Regions from separate parts of the Homo sapiens genome. Here regions 1 and 3 are each linked to region 2. The links are contacts of gene promoters, found by promoter capture Hi-C in human tissues and cell types (Jung and others, 2019). All regions are on one chromosome and are shown on one strand. Each heading gives the region's core, a stretch centred on a gene start or on the middle of the fragment in contact. The rest is flanking DNA. Distances are from core to core; before and after follow the strand shown. Region 1 has its middle 42 kb from the start of SPRED2. Region 2 holds the start of SPRED2 (sprouty related EVH1 domain containing 2). Region 3 overlaps SPRED2 (sprouty related EVH1 domain containing 2).

Region 1 (3,480 bases), core at 198-2,697, 42 kb after region 2:
AGTCCTCGGGAGCCTGCTCATGGTCACAGGCAGTGTTCCTGGAGGTGGAAGACACTCAGGATTAAGGCTGAGGGGCTACACTGGCAAAAACCTCCTGGGTACCTTTGGGGAAAGAAGACTCCCTTTCAGTTATGGAAACAAAAGTTCTCTGATGATGCTTATGCACCACACCTTAGGCTACAGCTAAGACAAGGCAAAACAGGACCCTCAGTCATTCCAGCTCCATAAAGCTGCCTCTCAGTGAGGACGAAAGGTTATCAGACTTTGTCCTTGGTGAACTGTGACAGAAGTGAAGATTTATGACCCATACTTTAATAGTTTCTTGATTGGATGATTAGAGCTCCCTATATCTTTATCTGCTAGCTAAGTAGTTTGGTGTCTGCACAAGGCCCAAATGCTGTAGTCAGACTCCTGGAGAGTCAATGGCCATATATGTTGGGGGAAAGCTTAAGTAACTCAATTGACTTTCAGTTGTTGAAAGCATTGATTTTTTTTAATTGCACTTATGGCTTAAGACCCAAAATAGCTTTGGACGATAGAGCAGAGGTTGCACTATTAGTTCTGTAGTCAATTCTTGACATATTCTGCCCTCTAAAAGGGCCAGTTACTACATCGGTTACTATATTAGGAGCTTCCAGTTCAGGCCTAAGATTTTCATTGATATGACTTAAGGACAATTGATGCTTAGATTCTTCCATTGAGAAGGTAACTTCAGGAGATTCTCATGTCTCCACCAAGGTTTCAGGAGATACTCTGCACAAATAAGACATGACTGGGGAGGTTTGCAGCCTCTTCTGTTTTGAATGTGATCTGTGATCTGCTGGCCTTTTCTGTTTCCCTAGGGACTTTTGCTCTCAGAAACTTTCTACCAGCTTGTGCTGTGGGGAAAGGAAGGCATTTTCCAGGGAGACCAGTCATTCTTCATGTTTGTATAGTGCTTTCCAGTCTTTAGTGTTACAGAGAACATTAAAATATTTTAGGCTAATCCTGCTTTTAAAAATGAAGAATTGAGGTCTAAGGAGGCTAAGTGATTATCTGAAATGTCACAACAAGAGGCAGGGCCCATGATTATAAATCCAGGGTTCTTGCCAGGATGCAAGACTAATCTATTTATGGGTAGGGGATACAGGCTCCACTAGGTCCATTGAGAGACGCTCTTATTAAGTTTATACAGGTATGTTACTTCTCTGCTATCTTCATGTGTAGGATTGGGGTGGGGAGACAAGGTCACACTCAAATGAGAGTGTGGGAGAACAACCACAGCTCCCCTGCCTCTCCTGTGGCAGGTCCGAGAAGGCTATGGAGAGGTGCTCCTTTTCCCATCATCTCCCCAATTTGGAAAGGAGTTCAGGAAACCAAAGCTAATGGAATCAATGTTAAATAGATTCGCTCTTTCATTGGCTTAAGTGGTCCAGCTGAAGAAATGTTTGGGAACAAGATACCAGAGAGGCAAGGTACTTACACAATTAAAATATAAAGAATTTAAAGACTGTGACTGAGTGGTCTTTTTGAGGTGACTCTTAAATGAAGGGCAGCCATATGTACTGACAAGGTAAAACCAGAGCTAGACAGTAATTGAAGTGGTAAAAACAGGTTTCTGTTTATGACTATCTCACTAGGGGAAAAGAGATCACAGTGTAGACCTGGATTCACTTCTGAATACAGTGTGGGCAAGTGGGAATTTATAGCCAGGAGCAGGGTGGGGGTTGGCGGGTGGGATAAGGGAGACTCTAGCTTAACAGGATTTTTGCTGAAGACAGGGCAGGGTGATCACACATCACCTGGGGATGGTGGAGGATGAGGAACCCAATCAGATATGGAGAGGGATCAGATATGGAGGGTGGGGGATTCTGGCTAAACCAATTTAGCCGGGTTCTTGCTAAACTTGTCTTTACAAGGAAGTGTACAGATAAATGTAGGAGAAGATTCAGGAGCCTGACTAAAGTTTGGTCAAACAAAGCATCTTTGTCAGATCAAATCTGGGAAAGCAAGAATTTAAAGGCTGGCCGGCGTTCGTTTTGACCCAAACACATAGGCCATAGTACTAGCACTGATTACATAGATCAACCCTGGAGAAGAAAGGAGAGCATTTAATAGCTTCCCGTGAATGAGTTCTGTAAGGGTTTACAGAACATGTACTGTGTGTTCCAGGTGTGGATGTACAGACATGAATGAGGCCTCATGGCCCAGTCTCTATGAGTTCTCAGTGCAACAAAGAGATGAGAACATGTGAGCTGGAGGGGAGGTGGTAGCAGGGTGAGAGCTGGTACTGTGAGCTCAGTGGGGGTTGAGAGTGAGTAGGGCTGTCCCCTGGGGCAGGGCAACAGTGATCTCATTACATCTGCAGCCCACAGGGCTCAGTTCTGCTGTGGTCTCAGAGGGATCACCCTATAGCATCTCTTGGATTCACTCTTCCCTGTAAATGGATGTCAGGTTCATAAAGGCACTCAGTTGGGTTACATGAGTCAGTAGGCTTTACCCCATACCCCCTCCCATGCTCAGAATCTAAGACATTGTTTTAGATATCACATTTTCAGCCAAATGTCAATATGCCTGGTCTGACATCTGAAGATAATTTGAAATCAATGGCAATAATTTTCCCATCCTTGGAAGTATGGTTTTAGCCATTGTTACCTAAAAGGTCTTGCTTAAATCAACCTCCATCCAAAGTCTCTTTAATAAGAAAAGTAGCTGACATTTTTTGATCACTTACTCTGTGACAGGCATTATATATGCATTAGCTCATTTAATCTTCCCAACATCCCTATGGATAAGTCCTATTATTACCCCCGTTTTACAGGTAAGTAACTGAGGCTAAGAGGATATATGAGTAGCTGAAAATCACACAAGGGGGAGGTGCTGAGTGGGAATTTGTAACTCCTGAGCCCATGCTTTGAGTTCAAGCTGCTTATCACCACATTAAACTGGGTCTTTACCTGAAATAATGCAACACCCAAAGCAACTTCATGTTTCAGGGATTCTCAGAGGAGTAGAAGGGGCTTCTCAGCCTTGCAGAAGGGTGAAGCTTGGAGGGAATTATGCTTACCATAATGTTTATTATATACTTTATAGTTTGAAAATGATAATAATAAAGATTCTCATACAGTCTTCGTGAAGGGAAGGCACACATCCATAATGTCCGAGGTGGGAGAAGCCACAGGCCAATTGTAGTACATCCCTGGGTGTCATTAAAGGAAAGGCAGCAATGAAGTGGAGAATAGTTTCCCTATCTATGAGGTGGGAGGAATAACAGTATGGCATCTCGCTCTGTCACCAGGTTGGAGTGCAGTGGTGCTGTGTCTGGAGTTTGTTCCTGCCGTTGGGTTTGTGGTCTTGCTGACTTCAAGAATGAAGCCACGGACCTTCACGGTGAGTGTTATAGCTCTTTTTTTTTTTTTTTTTTTTTTTTTTTGAGACAGAGTCTGGCTCTGTCGCCCAGGCTGGAGTGCAGTGGCGCCATCTCGGCTCACTGCAAGCTCC
Region 2 (3,563 bases), core at 745-3,244:
GCCTGCGGGGGGCAAAAGACCTGGGGCCTCCGGAGCACGCCTTCCGAAGCCCACACTCCCCTGCAAAGACGCGCGCGGGGCCTCCCTCCAGGGCGCGTCCCCGCGGCTGCCAACCAGCTCTTTGCGCCCAAGCCCGCGCCGCCGCTACCTTGGCTAATGGCAGCACTGAATGAAAGGAACGGATGCAGGCTCCGGATTTATGAATGTGCAGGGGAGGAGGGGAGGGATATCATGTGACAATAAAGGAGCGCGTCTTATTCACAAAAAAAAAAAAGTGGCTGGTGGCGGGCACAGCCACTGAGCAGCAGCGGCGGCCGCCGCGCGGTGACCGCTCAAACCCCAGGCATAAGACTTGAGGCGTCGGGCCCCGCGGCCCCGCCCCCGTCGCACCCGAGACTGAAAACGCCTCAGACCAGGGAGGGAAAATGCCAAACTGGACCCCTGGACCGCGAGGCAGGAGGCAGCTGCACCTCCGCCCCGGGCTGGCGACAGTCACGGGTCCCGCGCGGGGCGGCCCAGGATCCCTCCGGCGGAGCGCCCCGAGCATTGTTCCCCTCGGGCCCGCGGGCCAGGCACAAGCCCGTGCACGCGCACCCGCGAGGACACTCACATACACACACACACACGCGCGCCCCCAGCGCGATGCCCCGCACGCCCCCGCCGCACACGCCTCGGTCCGCCCCGAGCCGCCCGACCCCGCAGGACGCGTGTGCCGGCCACAAGCGCGTGCACAGGCACTCACGCGCCGCGGGGCCCCTCGGGCGGCTCCAGCACGCCGGCCCGCGCGGGGACCCTGGCGCACCAGACCCCCGCGCAGCCCGCGCCTGTCCTCCTCTCGCTCCGCCGTGTTTTTTATGAATGAAAATGTGGTATGCAAATGAGAGCGATTCAAGAAAACGAAATGGCGGAGCCTAGGCCCCAGTGGGCTCCGGAGCGGACTGCAGGGCTCGCGGGGCGGCGGGAGTCACAAAGTCACTGTGCAAAAACCCACCAGCCCCGGGAAGCCGGAGTGGGGGTGTCAGGTCTTCCGCTCTAGCCGCCGAGGATTTCGGGGGCGGGGGAGCTGTAAGTCCTCCGAGAGGGAGCGGAGACCGCCGGGAGGTCACCCGCACGCCCTTGGCCCCCGGAGCTGCCACCAGCCCGCCGACCCTAGGCGTGCGCCCGCCAGCCCGCAGCAGTTTTTGCCCTCTCCTCACTTCAACAAGCAGGGAAGCCTCGCGTCCCAACGCCGAAAGGTCAGCGAGTCGCTGCACCCCACGCCAAGTTCACCCAATAAGCGTCCCCGCCCGCATCCTCAGCCCCGGCCCCCACGCTGCCCCTGAGGGGCACCCTCGTCCCACCCCGCGACCAAACTTACTCGTCTGGGTGTGTTTCTTCGGTCATTTTCTTGTTCACCTAGACGCCTGTCCCGCGGCGGGCAGCTTTGCTCCCTTCATCTTCCTGTCCGCTCGCCCCCCTTCTTCACATCTCCGGAGATCGCCTGATTTGGGGAGGGGGGGCGGCTAGAGATGAAGAGGGCGCCGCAGCAGAAGGGGAAGCAGGGCGCGGGATAGGGTTTGGGGGAAGGGGTGCAAAGGCAGGCTGCGCGGGGAGTGAACGCCGCAGCGCCGTGGGGAGAGGCGGGCGGAGGCTCCGGGGGCTCGGGAGCGGGCAGAGGGGGCGAGATTTGGGAAGGGGACGGCGGTGGGGGAGAGCAGGAGAAAAACAAGCGCGCCTCGGAGCGGCAGGGACTGCTGCGAGGAGGAGGAGAGCGCCGGCCGCGGGTGGGGGGGCTCAGTCCGGGGTCGCCCCCGGGGGGCCGGGCCAATCACGGTTCCGGGGAGCGGTCGGCGGCCGGGGGAGGTGCGCCTGGGAGGCGGTGCAGGGCGCCCCGTCCGAGCCCCATCTCTCGACTCCACCGATTTACTCCATATTGGATTCTCACCGCCGCCAACAGGAGGAGGAAGTAGGGCGGAAGCGATGACGTCTTCCCAGCGGCCAGAGGTGGTGGAGTGCAAAAAGCTTCCTACTTGCGACCGAAAAAAAGGGAGAAGAAAAAAAAAAAAACTTTGTCCCGCCTACTGAGCACGCCCCGCTTCCTCTCCCCCTCCCTCCTGGCTTCCACTCCCGGGGGAGCCGCGGAGCCGAGTTGTTTGCTTGCGCCGCGACCGTCTGGCTCCGAATCCTCCTTGATTAGGGCTCCGGGTTTTAGGAAGCCCGAGAGGAGGGAGGAGGCGGGAGCGGAGGACTCGTACACATCTGGCTCCCGTTTTTGCCCCCTCCCTCCTTCCAAACACCAAGATTAAAAATCGGGGGGTTGGGCGGGGGCAGAGATGGGAAACTCAAGGGAGGGGAGGGAGTAAAACAGCTGAAGAGGTGCTCAGGCTCAGAGGCACAACTACCCCCACCGCGGGGTGGGAAGGTAGGGGCGGCGCAGGTGCCAGGGGCTGGCTTCTCCAGCCCAACCCAACCAGAGAGGGGAGGGGGTTCGACTTTGCCAAGGTTCTGAAAGGCAGAGGCTTTTCCGTTTCACGTGAATCTTGTGATTTTTTTTCTTTTTTGTCTCAATAGAGGAATGGATTTTTGTTTTGTTTTGTTTTGAGATGGAGTCTCGCTCTGTCCTCAGGCTGGAGTGCAGTGGCGCGATCTAGGCTCACTGCAACCTCCACCTCCTGGGTTCAAGTGATTCTCCTGCCTCAGCCTCCCGAGTAGCTGCGACTACAGGCGCGCGCCACCACGCCCAGCTAATTTTTGTATTTTTAGTAGGGAGGGGGTTTCATCATGTTGGCCAGGATGGTCTCGATTTCTTGACCTCGTGATCCGCCTGCCTCGGCATCCCAAAGTGCTGGGATTATAGGCATGGGCCACCGCACCCGGCCAAGGAACGGATGTTTTTAAGAATCATTACTCATGCAAAGAAAAAGGTCAACCCAGCACAGCCCAGAAACGTTTGCATTTCCGTAGAAATTATGGAATTTCTCGCGTTAAGAAGCAGCCCCGGCCGGGCGCGGTGGCACACGCCTGTAATCCCAGCACTTTGGAAGGCCGAGGCGGGCAGATCACCTGAGGTCGGGAGTTCGAGACCAGCCTGACCAACATGGTGAAACATCGTCTGTACTAAAAATACAGAATTAGCCGGGCGTGGTGGCGCGTGCCTGTAATCCCAGCTACTCGGGAGCTGAGGCAGGAGAATCGCTTGACCCCAGGAGGTGAAGGTGGCGGTGAGCCAAGATTGTGCCACTGCACCCCAGCCTGGGCAACAAGAGCAAAACTCCATCTCAAAAAAAAAAAAAAAGAAGAAGAAAGAAAGAAAGAAAAAGAAACAAGAGACATAGTCCCTATCCCTTGCTGCTCTCCAAACACAGTAGACTTTTCCATCCTCTTGAATGTCCATGGGACAATCCAGATACGATGTTAACTAAATAGCAACCACTGAACAGGTTAAGAGATTAAATATTTGCCTCAGGCTGGGCGCAGTGGCTCATGCCTGTAATCCCAGCACTTTGGGAGGCTGAGGTGGGCGGATCACCTGAGGTCAGGCGTTTGAGACCAGCCTGGCCAACATGGCAAAACCCTGTCTCTAC
Region 3 (3,451 bases), core at 230-2,729, 48 kb before region 2:
AAGAAGGCTTACGTTTTAAAAATACCACCGGCATGCTAGCTTGGCGTCTGTAAGCACAAAAAGTAGGAGAGCAAGGAAGGGCTCCAGAGGCAGGTGGACCGGGCCGATGAGTAAAGCGCCCACGCCTGCTTAACCATACTTGTCTATCAGGTCTGAACTCGGCCCAAGCTTCAACAGAGCTTTTCCCTCTTGCTCTGTGCTGTCATGAGCACCAAGTTCACTCTAGTTCCCTTGTCTGTGAGGCCGGGGCCCTGTTTCTAGTTGGAAGATGCTGTAAGAACAAGTGATGGTCCAATGAGGGGTATTTTGAGCTCTTCAAAGGAGCAGAATTTCTTTAGCTAATATCCCCTGTGGTATTCAACAGGGAATTTAAAATATCCTCAGATAGGGCCCTCTTCAGCTATTACTTTATGTCCTTAGAACTCTGGCCAGAAAGAAGCTACCTTTCACATGGAGGAGGGAGGCTGAGTGCCCATCAAAACCCACCAAAGGCCGCTCCCCACCGTTACGTGGGTTCCCTATGTTCTGAGATAAGGCTTTCTGGTTTGGCCCTACTTGCTGTGGTGCCTAATCGAAATCTCCCTAAGGAGAAGTCTGACACACGAGTATGGAAAAGTTCTCTTATCATTTGGAGAATATAATTTAGGGCTGGGTAGATAAACATGTACAGGAAATACTTCTATAGAGGTCTTGATCCTCTGAAGATTAATAACCCATGGAACTGGAGCCCAGCCTCAAACTCAGAGGAAATAGGCAAGTTATAAAAACAGGAAGAACGGGAAGTTTATTTTTGGATGAATATTTGTTCTAGTGAAGCTCTCGATACTGACAAAAACCTTGATCTGCAGGTCATTTGCTGTAGCTGAGCAGCTGCAGTGCATGTTTCTACAAGCTGTCCCACCAGAGATTTCCGGGTCTTTCTGGAAAGAGCCTTGCCCCACTCCTGCAAAACATCTGCCTCGCTGCCACTGGCTGAGGGACTTCTTTCTCCTGCATTCTTGATGTGCAGGATCTGCTCAGCTAGAAGCCTCAGCCACCTGCAACGGCCGCTCTCGGCCTCCTTCCCAGTGCCCAGAGCCGGCCTATCTCCACCAGGTGTGGGAACTGCAGCTCTCGGTGTCTATCCCAGCGTGGTGTTATCAGCCTCCCTCGGTGGACTGCTGGCCTCCCTGGTCTCACAGCCTCCAGTGCCCCTTTCTCCCAACCCTGTCAGCATACTTTCCATGGCTCCCTACTGCTTATGGAATAAAGTCAGATGTTCCCAAGCTTGACGGGCAAAGCTCTTCACAATCCAGCCAAATCTACTTTTACAGTCCCATCTCCATAGGCAGGACCAGCTGCATGATTTGCAGGGCCTGGTACAAAATGAAAATAATTTGTTATTTATTAACTAAATAATAATTAGTTCAAAACTTAGTAAGAATTTCAAGGCAGCAACAGCAGAGCATTAAACCAAGTGTGGGGCCCTTCTGAGAGCAAGCCGGTGTGGTAGCATAGGGTGCAGGCCCGTGAGGCCAGCCCCTTCCCCACACCTCCCTTAGACCGACCCCAGAAGGCAGATGCTACCCCCACGGAGAAAAGCCCTCCTTACCTCTTCCTCACTCCAGTGAAACTCATCCTTTCCCTCAAGGAAGACTTCAAGACAAGAAGATCGGTTTCCACCCTGTCAGGTCCCCATTCAGAGGCACTCTCTGGCCTTGATTTACAGTATGCTTATTCATTTGCCTGTCTCTCATGCACACCTCGATTCACCAAGAGTTCCAGGCTCCTTGTTCATTGCCTGTTCATTTCTGTGCCCTCCTCTCCACCTGTTCAGAACAAAACTTGACACACAGTAGATCTGCTATAAATTTCTATGGTATGTTCACTAGAAATTTTGCTTTCCACTTCTTCTTTTTTTTTTTTTTTGAGACGGACTCTTGCTCTGTCACCCAGGCTGGAGTGCAGTGGCGCCATCTCGGCTCACTGCAACCTCTGCCTCCCAGGTTCAAGCAATTCTCCTGTCTCAGCCTCCCTGAGTAGCTGGGACTACAGGCGCACCACCACACCTGGCTAATTTTTGTATTTTTAGTAGAGATGGGGTTTCACCATGTTTGCCAGGCTGGTCTCAAACTCCTGACCTCAGGTGATCCGCCTGCCTTGGCCTCCCAAAATGCTGTCATTGCAGGTGTGAGCCACCACGCCCGGCCTGCTTTCCACTTCTAATGAATACTTACAAAGCCTCTTATGACCTTGCTGACTGATTAAAGGAAAAATTAAAAATTTCCTAAGATTTCCCCTTTACATAAGAGGAGATGCCCACGCCCTCTGGGGAGTTGGAGGGCGTCTGAACAGGAACTTCCATTAACCGCCATTGTGAACTGGGCTACCCAGACACAAAGGCTGCCCATGTTGTCTTTGGCAGTTGCTTCACAGGTAACCATGCCAGTGCTGCAGTGGAGGGGAGGCGTGGCAGAGGGATGGGAGTTAGGAGAGTCAGCATGACCCTCTTTCACCTTCCTGGTCTGATACAGCGGTGGGGAGAAACCAGAGAGGAAGAAGGTCATCTGATGTTTGATTCCCTACCCACTGCCACCAAGAAGTGGAAGGAGAAGGGCAAGAACCTAGGATTTTCATACCTAGAAACTTTAAATGAGCTCTCATTTCTTTGGAAATGATGACCTTTTCAGGGAAAATGCTTATGGGCTCTTGAGTTCCTTTAGAGCAAAGCGGCAGAAGAGACAGATGATGATCCCCACTCCCCTAATAAATGCAGACCTGCGTTAGTGTTTTTCAAGAGGAAGAAAAACACTGGACATCCCAAATAGCTTCCTAAATGTTCAGGTAAAGTTGATTTTTCCAGCAATTGTTAACTGATCATGCCCATGGGAGATGGTGAGGCAAAGAAGGGGGATGATATTGTATCAGAAAGCACAGGACTGGTCGGGTGCGGTGGCTCACGCCTGTAATCCCAGCACTTTGGGAAGCGGGGGCGGGAGGATCGCCTGAGGTCAGGAGTTTGAGACCAGCCTGGCCAACAGGGTGAAACCTCATCTCTACTAAAGATACAAAAATTAGCTGGGCGTGGTAGCGGGTGCCTATAATCCTAGCTACTCGGGAGGCTGAGGCAGGAGAATCGCTTGAACCCGGGAGATGGAGGTTGCAGGGAGCCGAGATCGCGCCATTGCACTCCAGCCTGGGCGACAAGAGTGAGACTCTGTCTCAAAAAAAAAAAAAAAAAAAGAAAGCACTGGTATCAGAAGGTCTTCACTAGATTTAATCAAGGGACCTTCTTACCCCAGCAGGGCATTCAGCAACCACAATAGTAGTAGCAGCAGCTAACAATTATGGAGACAAGTATTCACTAGGTAAGGGCCAGGTCACGTCCTCTCTATCGTACCTCTCATGGCATTGGTACCATCTGTACTCTTTTTGTTTACATGCTTCTATGCATATTGTGTATCTCCCCCTT

Evidence for each region. Contacts are between HindIII fragments. The study calls those that stand out against the background at their distance.
Region 1: a fragment that was not itself captured here is called in contact with the fragment with the promoter of SPRED2 in region 2 in 1 of the 25 tissues and cell types used here (pancreas).
Region 3: a contact is called between a fragment that was not itself captured here and the fragment with the promoter of SPRED2 in region 2, in 1 of the 25 tissues and cell types used here (pancreas).

What each region holds. Positions count from the first base shown.
Region 1 is chr2:65,472,981-65,476,460 of GRCh38, forward strand. No RefSeq gene overlaps it. Among named protein-coding and RNA genes, the nearest start is that of SPRED2, 42 kb to the left of the region's middle. The HindIII fragment of the contact is 3,905 bases long and covers 1-3,400 here.
Region 2 is chr2:65,430,605-65,434,167 of GRCh38, forward strand. It overlaps SPRED2 (sprouty related EVH1 domain containing 2), which reads right to left and starts at 1,995. Exons shown (of 6, transcript NM_181784.3): 1 at 1,358-1,995. The coding sequence starts at 1,383. RefSeq lists silencers at 338-847, 878-927, 1,698-1,897. The HindIII fragment of the contact is 4,754 bases long and covers 1-3,563 here.
Region 3 is chr2:65,383,083-65,386,533 of GRCh38, forward strand. All of the region lies in intron 1 of SPRED2 (sprouty related EVH1 domain containing 2), which reads right to left. Among named protein-coding and RNA genes, the nearest start is that of SPRED2, 48 kb to the right of the region's middle. RefSeq lists enhancers at 1-46, 257-306. The HindIII fragment of the contact is 5,320 bases long and covers 1-3,451 here.